2 separate regions of the Homo sapiens genome follow, and region 2 is linked to region 1. Evidence: promoter capture Hi-C in 16 types of primary human blood cells and fetal thymus (Javierre and others, 2016). All regions are on one chromosome and are shown on one strand. The core of a region is centred on a gene start or on the middle of the fragment in contact, and the rest is flanking DNA. Distances in the headings are between cores, read along the strand shown.

The links. Contacts are between HindIII fragments. The CHiCAGO score rates a contact against its expected background, and 5 or more counts as called.
Region 2: a fragment that was not itself captured here is called in contact with the fragment with the promoter of SEMA6C in region 1 in 4 of 17 cell types (naive CD4 T cells, total CD4 T cells, total CD8 T cells and 1 more); the score reaches 6.0 in naive CD4 T cells.

What each region holds. Positions count from the first base shown.
Region 1 is chr1:151,144,599-151,152,223 of GRCh38, forward strand. It overlaps SEMA6C (semaphorin 6C), which reads right to left and starts at 2,033. Exons shown (of 19, transcript NM_030913.6): 1 at 1,835-2,033. It also overlaps a transcript of LYSMD1 not described here. RefSeq lists silencers at 1,781-2,240, 2,451-2,510. The HindIII fragment of the contact is 2,380 bases long and covers 1,758-4,137 here.
Region 2 is chr1:151,024,582-151,032,206 of GRCh38, forward strand. It overlaps PRUNE1 (prune exopolyphosphatase 1), which reads left to right. Exons shown (of 8, transcript NM_021222.3): 4 at 30-214; 5 at 934-1,092; 6 at 2,652-2,746; 7 at 4,205-4,363. Among named protein-coding and RNA genes, the nearest start is that of BNIPL, 8.2 kb to the right of the region's middle. The HindIII fragment of the contact is 8,691 bases long and covers 438-7,625 here.

The sequences.
Region 1 (7,625 bases), core at 783-3,282:
TTACAAAGGTGCTGGTGGCTTTATGCCCAGAGATGCAGGGGAAGGGGATGGCCCCTTTCTAGAAACTGCTAGAACTACAGGGCTAGCCTTGGCAAAGGGGGTCACTGGGAGAGTTTGTGGGGCATGGCGACCACTCCCATGTTAAGGCCCTCAGAATCCAACAGCCTTCTTAGCAAAAGCGCCTTAGCTAGGGACAATAGAGGCTAATTTGCATCTCATTTACATGCTCTTCATTTCCAGGCAAAATGATCTGATAGCAAGCACCCTCAACCCTTTCCTTCCTCCCTGAGAGAGCAGGCTGTGCCTCCCTTCCACTCAGTCTACACACACACACACTCACACCCCACTTTAGGCTGGATTAGTCCAGCCTCTACAAACACTTGGCTGGCCTTTGCATTGGCCTTCTAGACTCAACTATGATACACCTTTAAGAGGGCTTCTTGTAGCTGTTTCTGGGAAGCAGCATCTGGTCAGCTCCTCAACTCCTGGCCTGGAGAAAAGATCACTCTGCCCTGGAAGAATCCGAGCTGCTTCACACACCCCATCTGAAGCACATGGGAGAGACCTGGCCGACTCTCCCCTTTCCAGATCCTCCCGTTGCTGGGAAGAGGAAACAGCCCTTCTCTCTCCTGGCCCCGAAGCCACCTCTGGGGAATGGCTGGGGTCACAGCCAGAGTCTAGGAGAGCTGTGGAAGGGATGGAGAAGGGGAGACTGGGCTGGGGACAATAGCAGGAAGCCTTTGGGCTGGTCGCCCGCCCCAGTCCACCTTCCTCAGAGGGAGCAGGGTCGCGCCAAGGAGCCTGTGGAACCGGAGCTTTCCTTTCTCCAAGCCATTTCCCCCACTCTTAGCTCTTAGCCCCACACTCAGCACCTACCCTCCTTCCCACCCAACCCCCAACCAGGACAATCCAGGTGTCTAAAGCCTCGAAAAGAGGTGGGCCTAGGGCCAGGGGCTCGACCTGTCTCCCCCTCACCGGATCCGGGGCTCCGAGGAGGGGCCGGTAGCAGAGTCTGGGCCGGGACCGGGTCCCAGAGCCACGTTAGCGAGAGGAGGGGCTGGAGGGGCCTGCAGGCGCAGACGAAGAGGGGATAGGAGCGGGGGTTGGGGAGCGGAGGCGGGTCTCCCAGGCCAGGGAAACAGGGCCAGAGGCTGAGAACCGACGAGGGCGGGCCTGAGGCCGGCGCTCAGTGGGGACCGTGGGCTCAGGAGGCAGTTGCCAGCTCGGATGTCCTCCTTGGGAGACCTCAGTCTAACAAAGCCCCGGGCCGAGCGGGCTGAAGGAAGGAGATAGGCGCTGGGACCGATGTTGCTCGAGGGCCCCATTCGCCGCCTCTTTGCACGAGCCAACCCTTCAGAGGGTGCTCAGATTCCGGCTTGCACAAGGACAGAGGAGCACCCGTGACACAAAGTCCGGAACGATGCGTCCCTCTTCCCATCCCTTCAGGGGCGTCAGGAGGGTCTAGTTCTCCGTGGGTCTCGGAGCCCTAGTTTCCTTGCTGGGAAAGCAAGGGGCCAGGTTTTCCACGCTCTCTACGGAGCGCGCCTCAAATAATCCCTTTTCGCGCTTCCCAGTCCAGCGGGATGCGACTCGACGAAAGCCCAATTGAACGAGGTGCCCAGACTCTGCTCTCACCAGTACAGTTACGGGGCTCGGCCACTGTCCCTCCTTCCTCCCTGCACCCCAATTTCGTTGACCCTCTCCGTCAGCCAGGCACACCGGGCGCCGACACCTCCCTGGTCCCCTAGCGCTTCAGAAGCTTGCCCCCCGCCGGCCGCGCCCTCCTGCTCCCTCCCCGCCTCCCCGCAGCCCCTTCCCTGCCCGGGGTACTTGCTCCAGGATTCGGGTCAGCGGGATCGAGATCGCCGCGGGCGGCCAGCGGCCACGCGCTGCGCTGAGTTCGCAATCCGTGGTTGTGCTCAGGCGAGATGCGATGAGCGTCCGAATTGGATGGTGCTTGAATTTGGGTTCCAGGGCGCTGTCGGGAGAGCCCTGGGTCCAAGTCCAGCCGCGGATCCGCGGAGGAAAACAATGCGACCGCCCGGGGCTCTGGGCTCGGCCCCAGTGGCCCCGCCCGCCTCCCAGCCGGGCCCACCTCCTGCCCGCCTTTGGGTCGCCGCGACTAATCCCGCCCTCGGAGGGCGGCTAGACACCGCCTTCTCGTCACCTCTCCGCCAATAGTGCTGCCCGGGGAGGGGCGCCAGGAGCACCGTCCACCCAGAGGGCCAGGCCGGGAGGCTGAACTGGAGACCAGAGACAGACGCGAGATGGAGAGACCCACGGACAGTCGCCGACACCGGGCAGAGGAAGAAATACATACAGAAGCAGAGACAGGCTGGCACAGGAGAGGCTCTGGGGAGAAATTTCCCAAGAGAGGAAGAGGAGCTGGGAGGAGAAACAGACAGGAAACCTGGGAGCCTCGCGGGGCTGGGCTGGGCTGTCAGAGCCTGCGCGATCCGTCCTCCCTTCCCCTCCTATACGGCTTGGGCGACCTTGCTCCCGAGGGCGCATCCCGCATCTCCCTGACTCTGCCCCCAACTCTCTGTTGCTCCTCTCTATGCGTTGTCCCTCTGTCTCCTTATTTCTCCCCGTAGGCCTCCTCTGGTTCGTCCTGACCCGGATAAGGAGGCCTAGCATGCGCGTGGGGGCTGGAGGCCTGGGAAAGGAAAGGAAGGTGTCAGCAGGAGGTTTCCCTTGTTTCCATGATCTCCTCCCCTCCCACCTCTACAAAGCAGCATGAGTTTGGGCCACTATGGCAAGAACTAGCTAGCAGTCAGGCTGTTGGGTAATGGAAGAGGGCAGGTGAGAGAGGCTGAAGCCAAAACAGATGTGGAAATCAAGACTAACTGACTCAGAGAAAGGCACAAAGAGTAGCAACGCTAAGACTTGATAAAGTAACCCACACAGCCTTCCTGCCCCACAGACATACGTCCCACCTTTCCTCAGAGGACCGTGACATCCCTCCAAACAGCAAAACTGCCCCTTCTCCCTCCCCACCCTTCATAAAGCCCCTGGGAATGTCAGTGAGGAGGAAGAATAAACTACTACAGACAGGATTGCTTGGTACCTTGGTATTGCCTGGTAGGATTCTTCTCTATGTGGGGCTGGGACAAAAGACATTCTCAAAATTCTCCAGGAAAGTGGGTGGCCTGGGAGACACTGGCATTCTCAGATAGTTTTATCTGACTGAACACTTCTACCCACATCTTGGACTCTGGACTAGAGGAAAGGAGGGGGAAGGGGTTTGCCACTTTAGGCCAGCCTTAACTGGACTGTGATCAGGGAGGGGAGTATCAACAACTAGGCTAAGCCCCACAGCGAGTACACAAGAGACCTAAACATACACACACATGTGCACACGCACATACAGAGAAAGAGAGAGACAGAGAGACAGATTTAAGGCCAGGTGAACCAGTAAGATGAACAGTAACTCAGTAAAGTCAGATCTAAAAAAAATAGAAGAAGATAAACAGGGACAATATCTACACAGAATTAACGGCCGAGGGATCTTGGGTCCAAGGCAATTCAACAAACTGTCAGACAGTTGGGGTTGTTTTAAAGGCTGGAAAGAAATTTTCAGAGAAAGACACCTCAAAATACAGAGGCACTGAGAGGTTAAAAGAAATCTCCTCAGCTCCTAGCACAGGGTTTAGGTACTCAGATACATGCTTATGGAATAGATTAGTGAGTGGGGATTAAGGTGTAATTCATTTAAAGTTTTAGGACCCAGCTCAAATCTCAGTTCAATCCAGTAAGTATTAAACACTTACTTGAGACACAATCTACTACACAATCCACTGTGGGTTGTGGTTCCAGACTTTAAGAAAATGATAATATATTTGAATTAAAATAAGATTTGCACATACTAAACTATTAAAAAGTCTAAACTATTAAAAAGACAGTACTAAATATTAAATATTTAATAGTACTAAACTATTAAAAAGACAACACCAAGTCTCAAAAGAAAAGCTACATTGAACATAAATTTCCAAATGTGCAAAGAAGACAATAAATATTCTCCGAAGACTGCACAGAAAGATGCTGGATACATTTTATCATGAAGGACAGGAAAACTTTGGTGGGAGTTGGCTTGGTGCAAAAGAAGAAAATGTTCCCGAGGGACACAGCTTCAGCAAAAGCTTTTACTTGGTTAGCAAGGAGCCTGCAGCATGGATAAAAAAAAGGTCCTGTGAGGCTGGTGTGTGGGAAAGGCACTAGTTAGGAGCAAGGGGAGGGAAAAGGGGAAGACAAATTACAGAAGGCCTGGAATGACTAGGTGAGCTGGTTAAAATCATCTGACAGGAGTAGGACGTCATTTTAAATTCTTGAAAAAGGGTGCAACTTGTATTTTTTTATTTTTTTAAGCAAGAAGACAGAGACCTACTAGCAAGTAAACAAGGTTTAAAGGTGAGGGGAGAGGGACAATCAGACAAGGGTGATGGGAACAGATTTAGAAAGAAATACATGAATCTGAGAGCTATTTTGAAGGACAAATCAAAATGACTCTCTTGGCTGGGCGAGGTGGCTCACCCCTGTAATCCCAGCACTTTGGGAGGCCGAAGTGGGCAGATCACCTGAGGTCAGGAGTTCTGAGACCAGCCTGGCCAACATGGAGAAACTCCAGCTCTGCTAAAAATACAAAAAAAAATTAGCCGGGTGTGGTGATGGGCACCTGCAATCCCAGCTACTCAGGAGGCTGAGGCAGGGGAATTGCTTGAACTCAGGTGACAGGAGATTGCAGTGAGCCAAGATCGTGCCACTGCACTCCAGCCTGGGTGACACAGAGGGAGACTCTTAAAAAAATAAAAATAAAAATAAAAAACCTCTCTTCCTACTCCCTTAGTGTTTTGAAGAAAATCACACAGTCCTGGCCGGGCGCAGTGACTCAGGCCTGTAATCCTAGCACTTTGGGAGGCTGAGGCGGGTGGATTGCCTGAGCTCAGGAGTTCGAGACCAGCCTGGGCAACAACAGTGAAACCCCGTCTCTACTAAAATAAAAAGAATTAGCCGGGCGTGGCGGTGTGCGCCTGTAGTCCCAACTACTGGGGAGGCTGAGGCAGGAGAATTGCTTGAACCCAGGAGGCGGAGCTTGCAGTGAGCCGAGATCGCACCACTGCACTCCAGCCTGGGCAACAGAGCGAGACTCCATCTCAAAAAAAGGAAATCACACAGTCCCACAGATTGGATTGGAAAAGCACTCTCTTCCAATCCCCAGGGAGATATTTCAAACTTCCTCCTTTTTTTGCAAGTTCCTTTCCTTACCATTTCCTTGTTCATCTCAGGAAAACCCTCATCCGTCTTCAGAGAAAACAGAGATAATAAAGTGAGAATTCCACCAACTTTTTGCTCCCTACAGATATACTTACCTGCATCATGTCTCTCTCATCCTAGTGAATGCCATCCGTATCACCTGTCGAAGGTTCACCTATGACTTTACTGTAAGTTGTATGCAGTCCCTGGTTGTCTATCTTGCTCAACACTGTATCCTTTCCTTGTAGCATAGTGCCTGCACACAGAAAGTATTAACTTAAAAAAAAAATAGAGGCAGAGTCTCATTGTGTTGCCCAGGCTGGTCTTGAACTCCTAGGCTCAAGTGATTCTCCTGCCTCGGCCTCTCGAACTGCTGGGATTACCGGCGTCAGCCACCATTCCCAGTCTTAACCTGTCCTTTTCTACTGATATTTTCCCCTTAGCATATACACATGCTCAAGTAATTCCCATGATTAAAAGGAAAACATTCCAAACTTTCTCTTGATCCTTGTCTGCACCCAGTCATCACTCGATTTCTCTTCCCTTCATAACTAAGCTTCTAGAGTTACCTATACTTGCTATATCCATTTTCATGATTCTCATTCTCAATCATTTTAGTTTTTGTCCCCATCAGTCCACTGAGATTGCTCTCATTAAGGCCACCAACGACCTCCTGGTCACATTCAATGAACAACTCTTCAGTCTTTATCCTTTTGCCCTCTCTGTGCCATTTGACCTGTTGACTCCCCCCTCCTTGAAATGCTTTCTTCTTTTGGCTCCTGAGGTCCCTCTTTCTCTTAACAAAGACTAGGGGCTTAATAAATATGTATTTTTAATGAATGGATAGTTTCACTTCTATTAATATGGCTTTTCTTTTCTTTTCTTTTCTTTTTTTTTTTTTTTTGAGACAGAGACTCACTCTGTCGCCCCAGGCTGGAGTGCAGTAGCATAATCTTGGCTCACTCACTGCAACCTCCACCTCCTGGGTTCAAGCGCTTCTCCATCTCAGCCTCCCGAGTAGCTGGGATTACAGGCGCCCACCACCACGCCCAGCTAATTTTTATATTTTTAGTAGAGACAGGGTTTCGCCATGTTGGCCAGGCTGGTCTCGAACTCCTGACCTCAAGCGATCTGCCCACCTCAGCCTCCAAAGTGTTGGGATTACAGGTGTGAGCCACCACACCCAGCCTAATATGACCTTTCTTAGCCTTCTCTGACCTCTCTAAATGCTGGTGTTCCCTATGGTCATGTCCTTAGCCACCTCTTTCTTCTCTACCCATTCTCATTGGTCAAGATAATCCGACAATGAGAACAGTTACAAAACCAACAGTTACAATAAACTGTTTTGTTTTGTTTTGTTTTGAGATGAGTCTCCCTCTGTCACCTAGGCTAGAGTGCAGTGGCTCACTCGGCTCACTGCAAGTTCCGCCTCCCGGGTTCACACCATTCTCCTGCCTCAGCCTCCAGAGTAGCTGGGACTACAGGCACCTGCCACCATGCCCAGCTAATTTTTTTTTTTTTTTTGTATTTTCAGTAGACACAGGGTTTCACCGTGTTAGCCAGGATGGTCTCGATCTTCTGACCTCATGATCCGCCCGCCTGGGCCTCCCAAAGTGCTGGGATTACAGGTGTGAGCCACTGCGCCCGGCCACAATAAACTGTTTATATGTTGCTTACCATAAAATCTAGGTGTTCAACTCAGGTCTTTCTCCTGAGTTCTAGACTCATGTATACAATTGCTTATTGGATACTTCCATTTGGATTTTTCATGTTTACCACTTAGTCTAAAGACAGGAAGTAGCCAGGCGCAGTGGCTCACACCTATAATCCCAGCACTTTGGGAGGCTAAGGTGGGCAGATCACCTAAGGTTGGGAGTTCAAGACCAGCCTGACCGACATAGAGAAACCCCGTCTCTACTAAAAATACAAAATTAGCCGGGCATGGTGGCGGGCGCCTGTAGTCCCAGCTACTCAGGAGGCTGAGGCAGGAGAATCACTTGAACCCGGGAGGTGGAGGTTGCCATGAGGCAAGATCGCGCCATTGCACTCTGGCCTGAGCAACAAGAGCGAAACTCCATCTTAAAAAAAAAAAAAAAAAGACAGGAAGCTTGTCTTTTATCTTTTTATCCCCAGCACTTAATTGTAATGCCTGGCATACAGTAAGTAGAGGAAGAAATAAATGCATCAAAGATTAAAAACAAACAAACATCCTATGGCTCAGAGGAAAAACAACAACAACAACAAAAAACAAAAACAAAAAAAAAACAAGCCAGGTATGGTGGCTCATTTCTGTAATCCCAGCATTTTGGGAGGCCAAGGCAGGCGAATCATGAGGTCAGGAGATCGAGACCATCCTGGCTAACATGGTGAAACCC
Region 2 (7,625 bases), core at 3,533-6,032, 120 kb before region 1:
CCTCTTTTCCCATACCCTCCCCTCCACAGAAGTGACACAGCCCTAGAGGAGGCAGTAGCAGAGGTGCTAGACCATCGACCCATCGAGCCGAAACACTGCCCTCCCTGCCATGTTTCAGTTGAGCTGGTGGGGTCCTGTGCTACCCTGGTGACCGAGAGAATCCTGCAGGGGGCACCAGAGATCTTGGACAGGCAAACTGCAGCCCTTCTGCATGGTAAGGGTGGCTTTTGGATTGGGACCTCAGTAGTTCTATTCCTGTCCCTGAGAAGGGAGGGTGGAAAAGTCTAGACGCTTCCAGCCTAACCATATGCTCTCAGAGCCATTCAGCTCATACCAAAAGATAGGATTCTTTCAGGGGACAATTGAGCATGTGTTTAAAGGCCTGTGGGATACTTGTTGGAGAAAGTAGAAAGGAAGTGCAGGGCAACAGACCAAGAAGCTTCCTATTGGCATCATTTTATGATGGAAGGAGGATTAGCTAAAGAAGCAGGAAACAGATTCCAATACCAATTCCTCCAGGAAATAGGTGACCTTGAGCAAATCTCTTAACCTTTCTTGTTCTCATTTTTCCACTTGTAAAAAAAAAGAGAGAGAGAGTGAGTTGGACTAGACTGTCTTTTCCAACTTAGAAGATTCTTTGATGGGATTTGGCCTACTGAAGAGGTGTATCTCTGTCTGACTAGGCTGTAAAATCTCCAAGGTTTGAGATGCTCAGGCTTTCTTTCTACCTTTTCCCCATTTCCCTTCCTACATTTTAGTTTGGATTTGGGAGGTCTGAGGACACTGTCCATCCCAGTTTCTCATTTTGCTTTCAGAGATTTTGCTATACAAATCTCCTTGTGTGTGTCCATTTGGTGTGAAGGTTATATATGTTCTGGTGGTTGTGTGTGAAGGGTCACAGGATTCAAGTTCCACCATCTCCCTTCTCCACAGGAACCATCATCCTGGACTGTGTCAACATGGACCTTAAAATTGGAAAGGCAACCCCAAAGGACAGCAAATATGTGGAGAAACTAGAGGCCCTTTTCCCAGACCTACCCAAGAGAAATGATATATTTGATTCCCTACAAAAGGCAAAGTTTGATGTATCAGGTATGAAATGTTAGCTGACTTTTCTGCCTCCCAGATAAGAAAACAGAAAGGCAAGCCTTGTTCATTATATTATTTTTTTTTTTTTGAGACAGAGTCTTGCTCTGCCACCCAGGCTAGAGTGCAGTGGCACAATCTTGGCACACTGCAACCTCGACCTCCTGGGTTCAAGCGATTCTCCTGCCTCAGCCTCCCGAGTAGCTGGGATTACAGGCGCCCACCACCACGCCCAGCTAATTTTGGTATTTTTAGTAAAGATCGGGTTTCACCATGTTGACCAGGCTGGTCTTGAACTCTGAAGCTCAGGTGATCTGCCCGCCTGGGCCTCCCAAAGTGCTGGGATTACAGGCATGAGCCACCGCGCCTGGCCAATTATTTAAATTTTATACCAGAAAGAAATGAAGTACCATATTAGCCTAAGCATGAAATAATCAGTCATTTACTGGATTGTTCTATCCTGGCTCTTGGTTAGGATGAGGAGGAATGTATTAAGAGCCTCAGAAGGGCCAGACGCAGTGGCTCACGCCTGTAATCCCAACACTTTGGGAGGCCGAGGTGGGCAGATCACCTGAGGTCAGGAGTTCAAGACCAGCCTAGCTAACATGGTGAAACTCCGTTTCTACTAAAAATACGAAAAATTAGCTGAGCGTGGTGGTGTGTGCCTGTAATCCCATCTACTCAGGAGGCTGAGGCAGGAAAATCGCTTGAACCCGGGAAGTGGAGGTTGCAGTGAGCCGAGATTGCGCCATTGTACTCCAGCTTGGGCAACGACAGCGAAACTCCGTCTCAAAAAAAAACAAAAAGAGCCTCATAGGTTCCAGTCTATTCAGAGAATACAGGACATATATATAAAATATGCTGAGAGTATACTAAATTATCAGAGTGAAATCTATAGAATTGGTTAGGGAGGCAAAAGAAATATTTTGTGAGTAAACAAAAGATGAAGAGAACCCAAAAAAAACTGTATTCTTGTACTCAGCTACCACCTGTTGACATAAAAAGGAAGAAAGAAAGAAAGAACTCACATGTAAACAGTATAGGAAGAGGGAAAGATAAAAAGTAAAAGCCTCTGTTCTGGGTTTCATCCTTCTCTCCAAAGTTACTTGCTCTAAAGGTACCTATTGTCACCAGTTATTTAAGATGGCTTTTGATTATGTGATTACATTTTCTTTCTTTCTTTTTTTTTTTTTTTTTTGAGACAGAGTCCAGGTTCAAGTGATTCTCCTGCTTCAGCCTCCTGAGTAGCTGGGATTACAAGTGCCCGCCACCACACCCAGCTAATTCTTTGTATTTTTAGTAGAGACAGAGTTTCATCATGTTGACCAGGCTGGTCCCAAACTCCTGACCTCAGGTGATCCGCCCACCTCAGCCTCCCAAAGTGCTGGGATTACAGGCCTGAGTCACCGCGCCCGGCTATGATTACATTTTCAATTATCTCCCCCATTCATTGCCCCAAAGAGAGGCTGTTTTTCCTTCCTTGACCCATCTGGCTGTCCTTGCCTTCTTGGTCTTGGGACCCTGGCCTACCCTGTTTGACCCCTAGTCTCTCATCTGCTTTCTAGGACTGACCACTGAGCAGATGCTGAGAAAAGACCAGAAGACTATCTATAGACAAGGCGTCAAGGTGGCCATTAGTGCAATATATATGGATTTGGAGGTAAGAGCAAGTTGTGGCTGTGGGTGGGGAGAGAAAGCCTTTAGCTATGCATGTTATGCATGTGGCCTTGCACCTCATTCCTGGCTCACCTCCAAAATGTATCTTGTGTCTATCTTTGTCTCTACCTCCACTGTGACCACCAGAGTCCAGCATCTCTCACTGCACCGCTGTATTAGCCTCAGTACTGGTGTCCCTGCCTCTGCTTTTGCAGCCCTACAAACCATTCTCCCCGCAGCAGCCAGAGTGGTCTTTTTTAATTTTTTTTTTTTTTTTTTAAGGGAGTCATGCTTTGTTGCCAGGCTAGAGTACAGTGGTACCATCATGGCTCACTGCAGCCTCAACCTTCCAGGCTCAAGCAATCCTCCCACCTTAGCCTCTCGAGTAGCTGGGTCCACAGGTGCACACCACCACACCTAACTAGTGTGTGTGTGTGTGTGTGTGTGTGTGTGTGTGTGCGCGCGCGTGTATGTATGTGTCGATGGGGTCTCACTATGTTGCCCAGGCTGGTCTCAAACTCCTGGCCTCAAGCAGTTCTCCTTTTGGCCTCCGAAGTTCTGGGATTATAGGCGTGAGCCACTGTGCCCGGCCTCATTGTATTTTTAATAAAATCTAAAGGACTTACTGTGGTTTACAGCGCCATGCTTGATCTGGCCCTTGTCTTTTTCTCTGGCCTCATCTCATTCCAGCTCCACTCCTGTTCTACAGTACTGCAGCCACACTGGTTTCTTTTCTGTTCCTCAGAACCATTAAGCTCATTCCCAGCTGAGCTTTTTTCTTTGTAAAGCTGGCTCCTTCTTAACATTCAGGTACTCAGCTCAGATGTCTCTTGTTTTGGGAGGTTTTTCCTGACCACCCTAACTGAAGTACTATCTCCTATGCTCAAAAAACCTCTAGCAGTTATGTATGTATGTTTGTTTGTTTGTTTGTTTTGAGCCTGAGTCTTATTCTGTTGCCCAGGATGGAGTGGAATGGCATGATCTCAGCTCACTGCAACCTCTGCCTCCCGGGTTCAAGTAATTCTCCTGCCTCAGCCTCCCTAGTAGCTGGGATTACTGGTGCGTGCCGGCATGCCCAGCTAATTTTTTGTTTTGTTTTGTTTTGTTTTTGTTTTTTGAGACGGAGTTTCGCTCTTGTCCCCCAGGCTGGAGTGCAATGGCGCAATCTCAGCTCACTGCAACTTCCGCCTCCCTGGTTCAAGCGATTCTCCTGCCTCAGCCTCCTGAGTAGCTGGGATTACAGGCATATGCCCCCATGCCCGGCTAATTTTTGTATTTTTACCAGAGACAGGGTTTCACCATGTTGGCTAGGCTGGTCTCGAACTCCTGACCTCAAGTGATCACCTGCCTCGGCCTCCCAAAGTGCTAGGATTATAGGCGTAAGCGACCGTGCCCGGCCCAAGGATGTTTTATTGATGATGATGAGAAAGTCCTTCATCCCTCTCCGTTTCTTCCCTTTCAGGCCTTTCTGCAGAGGTCTAACCTCCTTGCAGATCTCCATGCTTTCTGCCAGGCTCACAGCTATGATGTCCTGGTTGCCATGACTATCTTTTTCAACACTCACAATGAGCCAGTGCGGCAGTTGGCTATTTTCTGTCCCCATGTGGCACTCCAAACAACGGTGAGTCTGTGTCCCTTCTCCAACCTAAGAGCCTTACAGAGTCTGCCTGTATGTACCTCTGTGCTCTACAGCTGTCCTATAAGGACCTCTCTTAGGTTCTTATATTAATGTACTTACATGAGGTCCCTTGACCTGTTTCTGGACCTGTTTCCTCCCCTTTCTGCTTTTTCCCATTCTCTCTCTATATGAATATCCTTTTTTTTTTTTTAATGAACATCCTTAATCATAGCATTGTTGAGAAAGGGGGAATTCCAAAGAGAACTAGAGATTCAATTCCTACTTTGAAAGAACGAAATCTAGTTAGAAGGAAATGTTATAAATCCGGAGTTAAAATTCCCTTCTTGAGCTAGGGACAGTGGCACGTGCCTGTAGTCCCAGCAACTCGGGAGGCTGATGCAGAAGGATTGCTTAAGCTGGAAAGTTTTTTTTTTTTTTTTTTTTTTGAGACAGTCTTGTGCTGTTGCCCAGGCTGGGGTGCAGTGGCACAATCTCGGCTCACTGCAAGCTCTGCCTCCTGGGTTAACGCCATTGTCCTGCCTCAGCCTCCCGAGTAGCTGGGACTACAGGCGCCCGCCACCACGCCCGGCTAATTTTTTGTATTTTTAGTAGAGACGGGGTTTCACCGTGTTAGCCAGGATAGTCTCGATCTCCTGACCTCGTGATCCGCCCGCCTTGGCCTCCCAAAGTGCTGGGATTACAGGCGTGAGCCACCGCGCCCAGCCGAGCTGGAAAGTTTGAGTCCAGCCTGGGCAAAGATAGCAAGACCTCATCTCTGTTGGGGAAAAAAAAAAACAAAAACTCTATTCTTGGTTTAATCATTAATTCCTCACCCCTGGAATTATGCTGTTGCCTTGAAAATTAGAAATACGAGAGACCTTTTCTGCTACTTACTATGCAGGGATTAATTATTCTGTATAGTGCAAACTCTGTAAAGAAGTGATCTAGATCCAGATTTGGCTATCTTTCCTACTTCCTCCCCCTTCTGTTCCTCTGCTGGTTACTGATTAGCCTAGGGAAGAATTTAAAAGTGGGCTTAAGGCTGGGTGCGGTGGCTCACACCTGTAATCCCAGCACTTTGGGAAGCTGAGGCGGGCAGATCACGAGAGCAAGAGATCAAGACCATCCTGGCCAACATGGTGAAACCCCATCTCTTTTAAAAATACGGAAATTAGCTGGGCGTGGTGGTGCGTGCCTATAGTCCCAGCTACTCAGGAGGCTGAGGCAGGAGAATCTCTTGAACCTCGGCAAGCAGAGGTTGCAGTGAGCCGAGATTGCGCCACTGTACTCCATCCTGCCAACAGAGCAAGACTCCGTCTCCAAAAAAAAAAAAAAAAAAGGTGGGCTTAAGGCAGTTCAGGGATTCTGAGGGTTGCCTAGGCTCTGTGAGGACTGCTAAAGACAGAATACAGCCAGATAATCCTTTGCTCTCATAGAAGGTATGTCTGTCCTTTCCCGCCCCCCTTTGCCTTTGCCTTCTCCCCAGGAAGCAAATCTGATTTCATTCAGTGTAAGGTAGTTCGTCATTATGAAAAGAACTGCAGTTTTGTCTGTTTGTTTGTTTTTTAAGATGGAGTCTCACTCTGTCGCCCAGGCTTGAGTACAGTGGTGTGATCTTGGCTCACTGCAACCGCCACCTCCCAGGTTCAGTCAGTTCTCCCACCTCAGCCTGTAGCTGGGACTACAGGCGCCTGCCACCATGCCTGACTAATTTTTGTATTTTTAGTAGAGATGGGGTTTCACCATGTTAGCCAGGCAGGTCTCGAACTCCTGACCTCAAGTGATCCACCTGCCTTGGCCTTCCGAAGTGCTGGAATTACAAGCCTGAGCCACTGCACCTGGCCAAGAACTGCAGTTTTTAAAGTCAGGTAGATGTGCTTTTCTGTTCTAGGTTTGCCTCTTACTCACTCTTTGAGCTAAGGCAAGTCAGTTGACTTCTGCATCTGGAAATGGCATAATAGTACCTACTGCTAATTCTGCTATGATCATTAAACGTAATATCATGTGTAAAGCACACTCCTGGAGCAGAGTAAGCACTTTGTAAATAGTGGCTCTTACTAATCCTGTCAGTAAGAAAAGGGTGCTTTGGCCATTAGAAGTACCTCTTCCACGTTCCTGAATCTTCTCCCCTCTGTGCTGCTCTTTTAAAGCTGTGTGGATTTCTAATGACTCTACCATTGTCTAGGTTGCCCCTATGCTTGGAAACAGGAGTCCTTCTCTCTCTGTTTTGTTTTTGTGTGTGTGTGTGTGTGTTTTTTTTTTTTTTTGAGATGTCTCACTCTGTTGACCAGGCTGGAGTGGTACAATGGCACTATCTCAGCTCACTGCAACCTCTGCCTCCCGGGTTCAAGCAATCCTCCCAGCCTCCCAAGTAGCTGCGGCTACAGGCACACCACCATGGCTAGCTAATTTTTTTTGTATTTTTTGTAGGGACAGAGTCTCGCTATGTTGCCCAGGCTGGTCTCGAACTCCTGGACTCAAGTGATCCACCAGCCTCAGCTTCCCAGAGTTCTGGAATTGCAGGTGTGGGCCACTATGCCCAGCCAGGAGTCCTTTTCTTACAGTCTACTCTACCATCTCCTCTCTTTCTCCTATGTTAGGGGTAGTATAATATATTGATTTAGAACACTGGCTTTGGTGACAGCTCTGGGCTCAGTGTCAGTTTTGCTTCATGCAAATTATGACCTTAGGCAAGTTACCTGATCATTGAAGCCTCAGTTTCCCTGCATGTAAGTGAGGGTAATAGTGATACCAGTCTTATTTTGTTCAATTCATTCTTTCTTCCTCCATCCCTCTTCTGGCCTCTAGATAAATTCTAGTTCCATCCTAGTTCAAGTTCTTGAGCACATTTATACACTTGGAAACGACACTAGATTAGAAGCTGGGGTTCCTCGGTTCTGGTTTAACTGCCATCATCTGCATGATTTTACTCACAACCATCTTACTTCGCTTTAGTTACTTTAATAATAAAATGAAATATACAATCTAAACTGTTTCCTCTGTTTTTAAAATACTGTGTATGGCTGGGTATGGTAGCTCATGCCTGTAATCCCAGAACTTTGGGAGGCTGAGCTGGGCAGATCACCTGAGCTCAGGAGTTTGAGACCAGCCTGGCCAATATGGCGAAACCCCGTCTCTACTAAAAATACAAAAATTAGCTGGGCATGATGGCAGGTGCCTGTAATCCCAGCTACTCAGGAGGCTGAAGCAAGAGAATTGCTTGAATCTGGGAGGCGAAGGTTGCAGTGAGCTAAGATCGTGCCAC